Regions from separate parts of the Homo sapiens genome. Here regions 1, 2 and 4 are each linked to region 3. Evidence: promoter capture Hi-C in 16 types of primary human blood cells and fetal thymus (Javierre and others, 2016). All regions are on one chromosome and are shown on one strand. Each heading gives the region's core, a stretch centred on a gene start or on the middle of the fragment in contact. The rest is flanking DNA. Distances are from core to core; before and after follow the strand shown.

Region 1 (2,700 bases), core at 184-2,683, 300 kb after region 3:
AGTATAGAAGTTTGAGGCTGCAGTGAGCTATGATTGTGTCACTGCATTCCAGCCTGGGTGACAGAGTGAGACCCTGTCTCTCTCTCTCTCTCTCTCTTTTTTTTTTTAAAGGTTCTTACCATGAGTTAGCCTCGTCTTCTGACTTCCCAGGGTCATTTGAAGGAAGCATCTGCATCAAAACTGCCAATTTACACTTTAAAATTTTTTATATAAATGTTAGATGTTTTGCCAGCTTCAGGAAGGAAAAACAGGATTTTCAAAATAAAATGTTATAAGAATGTGTCATCCTCCTGGGGACTGAGGGTGATTTAAGTCCCTTGGTCTTCTTTCCTCCCATGGGCTGTTTGTCCCCAGCTGAGGGCCTCCATGGGTCAAGTATGCCAGCAGCTGCTGCTGCAGCATAACACTGCCCAACACCAAAGCCATCATCTTGTCACCATTCAGAAAAAGGAGGCCTTGATTTTTGCTGCTGTTCCTTCTCCATCCCCCAGGACAGCATGTGAGTCTATTTAGATAATCACAGTCCCAGGTGAATCTGCACTGAGCATTTTTTCCATTCTCTTACTCGTGAAATGTTCATTTGGGAAAAAGAAGTAATTTCATGGCAAGACACTTATGATTTCACAGGCTGAATTCAGTCTTTCTGAGGGTAGAAGGTTAACGGAGTTGAAGGTTACTTTTCTTTCTTTTTTTTTTTTTCTTTTTTTTTTTTTTCTGAGATGGAGTTTCTCCCTTGTTGCCCAGGCTGGAGTGCAATGGTGCGATCTCAGCTCACTGCAACCTCTGCCCCCTGGGTTCAAGCGATTCTCCTGCCTCAGCCTCCCGAGTAGCTGGGATTGCAGGCATGCGCCACCATGCCCGGCTAATTTTGTATTTTTAGTAGAGAAAGGGTTTCTCCATGTTGGTCAGGCTGATCTTGAACTCCCGACCTCAGGTGATCCGCCTGCCTTGGCCTCCCAAAGTGTTGGGATTACAGGTATGAGCCACCGCGCCCAGCCTTGAAGGTTACTTTTCTAGTATAAACTAAACTTGATCTTGGAACAAAATTCCTTATAATCAATTTTTCAGTTATTGCATATTATTTTCTTAGTACAATTCTAATTCTGCTGACTACAGAGTCAGAAAGGGTTTAAAAACCATGGTGACAGGTGGTCTCCCAGCCAGAGCTGTGGTTTTGGAAGACATGAGGAAGACCACAACTCCTGAACTAGGATGGGGGTTGGGATATGGAGAGGAGAAGGTGGACAGATGGATGCAGAAGCAGAGTGGCTGACACACGCTGCAACACAGATGGGTCTGAGGATGCTTCAGTGAGTGAAATCAGCCCATCACCAAAGGGCACGTGCTGTGTGGTGGAGGAACATAGTCGCATGTGTGTTGTTGGGAGGTGGAGTTTAAGGTGGAAGAACCTCTTTGAGGGCAATTTGGCAGAATCCATCAAAATGGATTCCACCTGTGTGCAGAGAGGTGCATGGGAGGACAATTATCGCAGTACTGTTTGTGATAACAGAAAACTGGAAACAACCTAAACGGGCTGCTGTCTCCATCCATGTGATGGACCTGCATGTGTCGTCAGAGAACAAAGTAGCGAATGGTGATGGAAGTAAAGCTAGCAGTGACAAAATATTTACCACGTGACCGACATTGTCTAAGTGCATCTAATCTTGACCACAATCTCATGAGTTAGGCATTTTGTATCCATTTTACAAATACAAAACTAAGGCAGCAAGAGGCTCCATGACTGCTCAGAGTCACACCCTAGTAAGGGATAGAGCTGGGACTGAACTCCTGCTGTTGGGCCCAGCATCCAGTCCCTTGGTCTCTACACTGAAACTGTTCATCCAGATGTCGTGAAGGACCTAGCTCTATATATCTTGGTAAGGGTGCAGAACATGCCACCATCTGCATAAAAGGGGGAAATACACATGCATGTTTGCATAAGTGCAAGACAGCACTGTCCTGTAGAACCCTCTGTGATGATGGGAATGTTCTATATCTGTGCTGGCCAATCCTGTAGCCACAGGTGGCTGCTGAGCACTTAAAAGATTCCTAATGTGACTGAGAAATGGAATTTTGATATTATTTAATTTTAACTAATTTAAACAGCCACATGGGGCTGGTGGCTGTCGTATGGGGCAATGCAAGGTAGAATATAGACAGATGGATGTTAAAGAAAAGATCACCGGATTTTGTGGTTTGCAATCCCTACTTTTAAAAAACCTTCTGCAGAAGCATCATTGGAAGAACGGGTTTCATAACTGTTTATTTCAGAACCACTAATTTAATCTAGCCACTTCATTTGAGAGATGAGGAAACTTAAGGCAGAAAAGTTGAGTCACTTTCCTAAAGTCATATTCAGCTGCGTTAGTGTGAGGAGGAAGGAGCGGGTCACAGTTTGGTTTGGTTTGTTCCTCTTTAGAGCATCGGACATTCTCGTTTGCCAGGGGCTTCATTCAATCTGATGTCAGCTCAGTTCTTAGCATGGCCGGTCGGTTCCTGGAAATGGCGGCTTTGGGTGAAACCATGTGCTGTAAGCCATGGGAACTCAACTCTGGCCCATGTCAATTAGCCTGCGGTGAAACTGGTTTTGTTATACAGCGTGTCACCATTTCACTTAATGTTACAGTGTCCAAGAACCTCCCAACATTAAGTGAGGACTTACTATAAAAGAAAGAAAGAACCAGACTTTTGTCTCCTGGG
Region 2 (2,700 bases), core at 40-2,539, 280 kb after region 3:
AAGCAAAGTGCAGGAATTGATATCAACATAGAGAATGTGGGCTGGGCTGGGTAGATCATATGAGGGGTAGGGGATGTGGGTCAGTTTATCTGCTGGCGACGGTTGTCTTGAGTCATGGGCCACCTAGTGTTCTGGTTGGTGGCAGCAAGGCTGTAAATCAGTTGTTTAGCATTCTTCCCTGAGATGAGGACATTTGCAACTTTGGTTGGATATGTTGGATTTCCTAGGGCCAGTTTCTGGAATTATTTAAGTAAAAGAATTAAACATTCTTTTATTCTTTTAAACATTATGAGAGTGCGGAAAAACAGTATGGCTATTTTCTTTGCATGACTGTTAAGCAGGTATGTCAGTGAAGTAGTGGTGTGGGTTTTGTGATCAGTGGGAATGCATGAAAGAATGCTATAGTGGGGATGAGCTGAAGCCAAGTCCTGTCCCTGCTGTCTCAGAAGAAGACACAAGCTCCAGTGGCTCACGCCTGTAATCCTAGCACTTTGGGAGGCCGAGGTGGGCAGATCACGAGGTCAGGAGATCGAGACCATCCTGGCTAACACAGTGAAACCCCATCTCTACTAAAAATACAAAAAATTAGCCGGGCGTGGTGGCGGGCGCCTGTAGTCACAGCTACTCGGGAGGCTGAGGCAGGAGAATGGTGTGAACCCGGGAGGCGAAGCTTGCAGTGAGCCAAGATTGCGCCACTGCACTCCAGGCTGGGCGACAGAGCAAGACTCCGTCTCAAAAAAAAAAAAAAAAAAAAAGCAGACACAAGCTCCCCGAGCAGTGATGCCTCCACCCAAGAAGACAGCTTTTGCTGAATTACCCTCCTGAAGAAGAGTGCTTTGCCTAATTCGCATAAAGGTCCTATGTAGTTGGGCCTCCAAAACTTCTCCAAACATTTTGTTTCTATTGTTTTGAGAATTGTTTGCGTTTAGTTTAAGAGTTTTTGTTTTCTAGGACAGTATCTGTTTTCTGTGAATATCAGAAAAGGGAAGTAATACCTGATGTAAGTTTAAGTTTTTTTCTTGTGAAATACACAAAGATAAAATGCACAAAATATAAATCATAATTTCTTGAACTGTGAGGAAGTGAAAAGTCATGCAGTCACCACTCCCATCCAGAAGAGGAGCATCACCAGCTCCCACAGACCCTTCCTATGACTTTCCCATCATAGCCCTCAGTACTCCCTAAGATAACCATTGTCCTCAATTCTCCTTCCAGATTTTTACAAAAGTATGCATCCGTAAGTACTATGTTAGTATTGCTTGCATTTGAATTTTATTACAAATGGAATAAAAAACTATGTAATATTTGCAGCTAGCTTTTTTTACACGGTATTGAGTCAGTGAGATTTATCCTCATTGTTGCATATAGCTGTAATTTGTTCATTTTCTTCACCATTTAGTAACCCATTGTAGGATTATACCATTATTTATCCATTCGATTATTGATGGAGAGTTGAGTCATTTCTAGTTTGGAGCTATTATGAATAACGCTGTTATGTTCTTGTGCGTATTTCCTGAAAAACATATGTGCTCATTCCTGCTGGATACATGCTTAAGAATGGAATTCCTGGGCCATAGGGTATGCATACAATCTAGTGGATAGTGCCAAACAGATGACTGAAGTAATTGTATAATTTATGTCTCTCCAGCAATTTATGAGAGATTTATTTCTCTGCATTCACATCAACACTTGGTATTGTCAGTCTTTTTACTCAAGGTCATGTGGGTAATGTGTAGTACTGTCTCACTGTGGTTTTGGTTTGCATTTTCCTGTTGGCTGGGGAGGCTGAACACCTTTTCATATGCAAATAGATACCCTCTTTAAAATTGGCAATTCCTACTGCATTCTTAACAATATTTTGCTAAAATTTCGGAAGATTCCAGCACCGTAATACTCCCTTCCCAGGCTGAAGCTTTTGAGGGAGGTGGGGATGGAAAATGAAAGAAGCTAGCAAGAAAAACCCAGCCTCAGCCAAGATCCATCCCAGATAGTAAATTAGCAGGGCTGGGAGTCTCTGTCATGTCAGCAGTCAGATGTCTTAAAACCAGAATCTACCCAGAGTATGTGTATCCTGTATCTTTGCCATTACCTTCTTTTCACTTTATGTTAAAAAAGAAAAAGAATCGCAGCACTTTGAGAGGCCGAGGGGGCAGGATTGTTTGCGCCCAGGAGTTTGAGGCTGCAGTGAGCTGAGATAGCACCACTGTAGTGCAGTGTGGGTCAGAAAAAAGAAAAGAAAAACCTGTCATGCTACTGACCAATAATAGAGGCTCCCAAAGTATAAACTCGCCTCAGACCCTTGTTTATTCTTCCTGCTACCCTGTCCACTCTGCCTCTGCCCTGTTTCAAGGATGGACCATGCCATGAAGGAAGGCCTCTTGGTTACAGCCTCCCCCAGCCCATCAGCCACGCTGCCGAGGACACGGGAAAGAATAAGAAGCCATAAGAACCAATAGCTATGACTTCTTATTCTTTCCTGTGTCCTTGGCAGCGTGACTGATGGGCTGGGGAGGCTGTAACCAAGGGGCCTTCCTTCATGGCAGTTGAACAATGTGAACACTTGGACACAGGAAGGGGAACATCACACACGGGGGCCTGTTGTGGGGTGGGGGGAGGGGGGAAGGATAGCATTAGGAGATATACCTAATGTAAATGATGAGTTAATGGGTGCAGCACACCAACATGGCACATATATACATA
Region 3 (2,700 bases), core at 63-2,562:
TCTGTCTGGTACTTTTTTTTTGAGACGGAGTTTCGCTCTTTTTGCCCAGGCTGGAGTGCAATGGTGCTATCTCGGCTCACCGCAACCTCCGCCTCCCAGGTTCAAGCGATTCTCCTGCTTCAGCCTCCCAAGTAGCTGGCATTACAGGCATGCGCCACCACCCTGGCTAATTTTGTATTTTTAGTAGACACGGGGTTTCTCCATGTTGGTCAGGCTGGTCTTGAACTCCCGATCTCAGGTGATCCACCCGCCAAGCCTCCCAAAGTGCTGGGATTACAGGCGTGAGCCACCGCGCCCGGCCTCTGTCTGGTACATTTTATCTGAAGCAACAGGAATTGACAGGAAAAATCACTGCTGTCCACAGACCCATACTTGCTCACTTCGGATATGTATTTTTAATGAAGTGCAACAACGTTACCCAGAATCAAAATTAAGCTGTTTCTACGTAAACATTGGGCAGGTAATACAACTGGAAATCAAAAATGTAAGTAGTTCGTTTGTAAGTTAGGGTTCCAGTAGTTAGCAAACTTGCCAAAGTCATCAAAAGTAGTGGTCTTCCTGTTGGGGAACTTTAGCAATAAGTAATTTTATTTTAGTAACAGCAGTAACTACCCCTCCCCCCAAAGAGGAAATTGGAAGACAGCACTGGGTGAAGAAAACAATTTTTTCACGTGTTGCTTTTAGACATAAAACCCTCAACATTTGGAAACTTCAGACTTCCATAATAAGGTTCTAAAGAGATTTCCTTGATCTTGATCCACGGTCCTCAAAGAAACACAAAAAAACTAACCCCCACCTAAGAACTGTTCTTAACCAAACAGGCAGGAACTTCTATGGGCTTTAGCAATCGCTTCTGAACCAGCGCGACAATACTCCTCTGACCTCGCGCAAGAAGGCCACCTTCTCCCTCCCAGAAGAGTCCCGGAGCAGAGCAAGGCACTCAGGGGGCATCTGCGCCGAGGTCGAGGCTCGCTGAAGGCCTTGCTGCCGCCTTGGGGAAAGCCCTCGCAGGCCCACCTGCCCCACCGCCGCCCCTGAGGCCCGGCCTGACTCCCCGCCGGCGCCCCCTCAGCTACCTTTCCGCCGGAAGAAGGACATGGCGGGGCCCGGGTCGGGACGGAGGGTGCGGGGGGACTGGCGCGGGGAGGGCCCGGCTCCCCTCATTCAGCAACCGGCCCGGACTTCCGGGTCCAGAGGGGCCGCTGCACTAGCGCGAAAAGGGACCCTTCTTCCGGGAGTGGGCCCCACCGCCTCCTCGGGATGCCCAGGCAGCTCCAGCCGCCATATTATCAACAAGCCGCCCGCCCGGAGTTCCGGTCCTTCCCCGCGCTAGGCTTCACGGGAGGTCAAGCGCCGGCCCCGCCCCTTTTCCCCATCCCCCTCCCGCGGGTGCAGGGGCGCACGCCCGCATCGCCCACGTGACCCGCGCGTGCTACCCGCGCCTCTTTCCCGGGCCCTGGGTGCCTGGAGCGAGCCACCGTTCCTGCAGCTGTTTTGTGGCGTCTGTCGCCGGCCCCCGGTGGAGCGCTGCAGACCCAGTCTCTGCAAAACTAACTCCCTGGGGCGGGAGCCCTCCCAGCAGCTGGAACGGGGCGGGCCTTAGGTCCCCGGCTTCCGGCCCCTGGGTACCCTTCAAATTGTGCCCTTCTAAAAGGCAGGGTCAACCCTGCCACGCTCCAGCTCGACCCCTCCTGCTCCTCCGTTTGAGTTTTGCTCACAGGCGCTGGCCGGCACGAGCAGCTTCACCCTGCACCCCAGTCCCTGCTTCCTCAGGAGAACCCGCCACGGCCTGCGGGTTCGAGGCGATGCAGAACCCTGATTAGGAAAAGGCACAACCTGCCGCATGCGGAACCAGCAGCTCCCTGGATCATTAGCGAATGAAAAGGGGAAGCGGGCTTATTTCGGAGTGCAGTCCCTGCGAATGCTCAACTTTGTAAGGGACTGCAACATAAAAGCCTCGCCAGTATTTAAAAGCTAGCTCCAGTGAATCATCCTTGCTCAAATGCCATTTTCCTGTGAATCTTCTGACCCTCTACTCCCAAAGCAAAATCAATCAAGCCTCCCTGTCTTTGGTGCTTCTTAACACCCGGCGAGTGCGCTCAGCGGCTGAGGTTGTAACTGCTCCCTGGGGTTGGGGTTGGGGAGGGCAGGAAGGTAATAGTAACTCAATAAATGTTCGCTGGGGTTTTTAAACCAATGAAGTTTATCATGTGACGGATGGGGAAACAGGCCCAGAAGAGACAACTAGCCCAAGATTGTTCAGAATGTTAGAAATACCAAAATTGTTAGAAATAGATAATCGGTGCCACGAAGAAAAGTCAGCACGGAGACAAAAGATCTCCAGCAAGGCAATCTTTACTTTCTGCAGAAAGGGTGCTCAATCGCAGATGGAACGATGTCGAGAGCACACCTGAACAAAGGAAAAGCAAACATATTTATCCCTTACGCATTTGGGTCGTCCTCACTGCTATGTCCTGCATCCATTGGCTGGAGCGGGACCTCACACTCTTAAACTGATAGCCGATTTGCTAATAGCCTAAAACTTTCTAAATAGGTAAGTGCAAGGAAGAACGAAGAAGGAGAGGAAGTTGCTTACCGAAAGGTTTAAGGAAGCAATAACATTTCCAAATAAGGAAGGGGCATAGGCTGTGAACTGGAACGTGCCTGTGAGCATGTCCAACAGTTACATAGGATAGGGCT
Region 4 (2,700 bases), core at 20-2,519, 260 kb after region 3:
ACACGAGGTCTCACTGTGTTGCACAGAGAGACTGGTATCGAACTCCTGGGCTCAAGTGATCCTCCCAACTCAGCCTCCCAAAGTGCAGGGATTACAGCCATGAGCCACCATGCCCAGCCCTTTCTAAGCACATCTTTGTATGTTTACTAACCACTGCATTTTCTCTTCTAAGAATTACTAGTTTTGCAACTTTTCCCTGCTTTTTCACTGAGCTGATTGTTTTTTTCTCATCAGCTTATAAGTCAGTATTTTATTAGGGATACGGTTGTATCCCCTATATTATGAGCCTTTATCATATTTTTCATGTGATATGGCTTTATCTTTATCATAGAAAATTTTATATTTTTATGTAAACTGTTAGTGTTTTCCTTTACTCTTTTTTTTAAGATTCCTTCTCCCCAGTATTATACAAATGTGCTATTAAATGTCTTCATCTACTTGATGCACACACATATGCAGGCCATTTGATCCACCTCTCTTTATTTAATCTGATGTGAGGTGTGGTTCTTTTTCTCCCACTGGGTAGCACTGTTTATTACCAGAGTCATCCTTTGTCCACTGAATTGAAATCCCACCTTTACATGGTTTATGTCATCCACATTCAGAGAGACCTGCCCTAGATGTGCTCCCATTTCTTTCTCTTTTGAGTTAGCTCTGCTTTAAAATATTCATAGATTATTAGATTGCTTATATTACTTTTAACTCATCCTTTCATTTAAAATTTTTATTTTATTGAATTTTAAGGCAGACAGTATCAGTGTTGAACTCTGTTTCCAGTCATGAATTTACAAACGCCAGTCCTCTCTTGAGTGCAGTTTCCCCTTCACTTTGTATTATGAACTGTTTGCATCGAGCAGGGCATGATTTTGCCTGTCACCTTCTCTTGCTGAAGCAGATCCAGGTGTGGCAGGGCCTGACGTTTGCCCCAGGTCCGTGTCTGAATTCTGCTCAGATCCACTGCCTTTGCCTGACAGTGCTTCTGATCTTCTTCTCATGACTTAAACGTGTTGGGAGGCTCTTGAAGGTACATTTGTATTACATACTTGGAGGTACAGAAGCCCAGGTAGAGTAGAGAAGGGTGAGTGCCTAGTTGGGAAATTCACCTGTACCCAGTTTCTTCTCTGCCTGGTGAGCCTGGAACGCAGAGCCAGCTCTCTGGATCTCTTTGCGTGCCCCTCATCCATTTTAGGTGCACACTGTGGCTCTTCCTATCCTGCCCCTTGTCACTACTGCCCTTTATGCCTAGGGTAAACCAACCTTGGCCTTCTCGGATGTAAATTCTTCTTGTTCCTGATCCTTTGCCAAAACGCCGTGCATCTCTCTGGGCTTCTCATGCTCCTCTCCAGCCTTGGCCCTCTAGGGTGGGGGACATTAGTTGGGGTTTTCCCATATCTCCATTTTCTTTGGAAGGGAATTGAGGGAAAGCCCTTGGTATTGTATTTTCATTCCCCCGACCGTGTACTCTCTATTAGCAGAAATTCTTCAGAATCTAAGCCACGTCAATGATACTCGACTACAGGACTTTTACTATTTGATTCTTATTGTTGGGATTTGTAGATTATGATGCTGGTGTTCAAATTACTTTCTTATCCTGTTTGTTTTTATTGTTATATATGCTTTTACTGAAATTTGAAAGTGAAATTTAGAAGATATTGTTTGACACCTAAGAGACAAAGTACTTCATAATTTCTGTCTTCAAATAGAGTGAAAAACTTCTGTTAGATTTGTTTTATGCAAAATAAGTATTTAGAAAAAATTACATTCCAGGCAAGGGCATAGAATGAGCAAAGGCACAGAGGCAGGGCATAAAAGTAAAAAACTTCAGGTGAATAGTCCAAAACTAGATGGGCAGAGGGGAGTCTTGGGAGATTAACTGAAAGACCTGGGGTTGGGCTTTGTTCAGGTGTTCAGTAAAGAGACCGGCAGGCGTGAGCATGTGGTTGACATGCGACCCGCCCTCTTCACAAATATTAATCTGCCAATTGTGAAGGTAGCAGTGGTGCCATACAACACTACCCAAATGGAGTTAACCTTTGAATACTTTAAAAATCATCATGTACAGGAGCTCACCTGTTCCTGGATCAGAATGAACAATGACATAAAGTGCTGTTTTTAGGAAGTAAATGCTGTAGACCATGACTGACATTTGAAAACTCTGTTCTCTAACATAACAAGGAAAGCAGCAAATTAGAGAGGTTAAATAAAAGTTTTAAAGGGAAATAATTAGAGACATGTATGTATATGTGCTTAAATGACAAGGTGAGGCATGGAAGGCAGACCGACATTCAGTGAGGAGGGCCATGTGCCTTGCTGTGCTCCATGGAGACACTGTCTGCTTATGGAGTGTGCATCACCTGCTGTGTGTGACACAGCATCAGGCGGTCTGGCCTGCAACTGTTGTTCTCTAGTATCTGGCCTGCAACTGTTGTTCTCTAGTATGGGTTGCCGCCTTTTAAGAGCAGATTATTGTATAAAGATAGGAACACTGAAATAACTTGGTAGTATTTTTTAAATGTACTTAAAATTTAGGAAGAAATACCATCAGTATTATTTCTAGAACCTTGTATATCTCTCACAGAACATTTATGCATTATAGAAAATTTGAGAAATGCGTGGCCAGAGCTGGATTTGCACCCCAGTTTCACCATTCATGAATCATGTGACCATGGTCAAATTTTCCTCTAAAATAAGGGATAATAA

What was found. Contacts are between HindIII fragments. The CHiCAGO score rates a contact against its expected background, and 5 or more counts as called.
Region 1: a contact is called between a fragment that was not itself captured here and the fragment with the promoter of AKAP10 in region 3, in 12 of 17 cell types (monocytes, M2 macrophages, M1 macrophages and 9 more). The highest score is 13.3, in monocytes.
Region 2: a contact is called between a fragment that was not itself captured here and the fragment with the promoter of AKAP10 in region 3, in 1 of 17 cell types (M2 macrophages). The highest score is 5.0, in M2 macrophages.
Region 4: a contact is called between a fragment that was not itself captured here and the fragment with the promoter of AKAP10 in region 3, in 8 of 17 cell types (M2 macrophages, megakaryocytes, M1 macrophages and 5 more). The highest score is 9.0, in M2 macrophages.

Annotation. Positions count from the first base shown.
Region 1 is chr17:20,278,624-20,281,323 of GRCh38, forward strand. The region is part of intron 12 of SPECC1 (sperm antigen with calponin homology and coiled-coil domains 1); the gene reads left to right. Among named protein-coding and RNA genes, the nearest start is that of FAM106B, 140 kb to the right of the region's middle. The HindIII fragment of the contact is 8,101 bases long and covers 1-2,700 here.
Region 2 is chr17:20,260,768-20,263,467 of GRCh38, forward strand. The region is part of intron 12 of SPECC1 (sperm antigen with calponin homology and coiled-coil domains 1); the gene reads left to right. Among named protein-coding and RNA genes, the nearest start is that of FAM106B, 150 kb to the right of the region's middle. The HindIII fragment of the contact is 1,242 bases long and covers 669-1,910 here.
Region 3 is chr17:19,976,516-19,979,215 of GRCh38, forward strand. AKAP10 (A-kinase anchoring protein 10) reads right to left here and starts at 1,313. Exons shown (of 15, transcript NM_007202.4): 1 at 1,077-1,313. The coding sequence starts at 1,164. RefSeq lists a silencer at 1,021-1,210 and an enhancer at 1,683-2,396. The HindIII fragment of the contact is 5,200 bases long and covers 1-2,700 here.
Region 4 is chr17:20,240,098-20,242,797 of GRCh38, forward strand. All of the region lies in intron 7 of SPECC1 (sperm antigen with calponin homology and coiled-coil domains 1), which reads left to right. Among named protein-coding and RNA genes, the nearest start is that of FAM106B, 180 kb to the right of the region's middle. The HindIII fragment of the contact is 6,498 bases long and covers 1-2,700 here.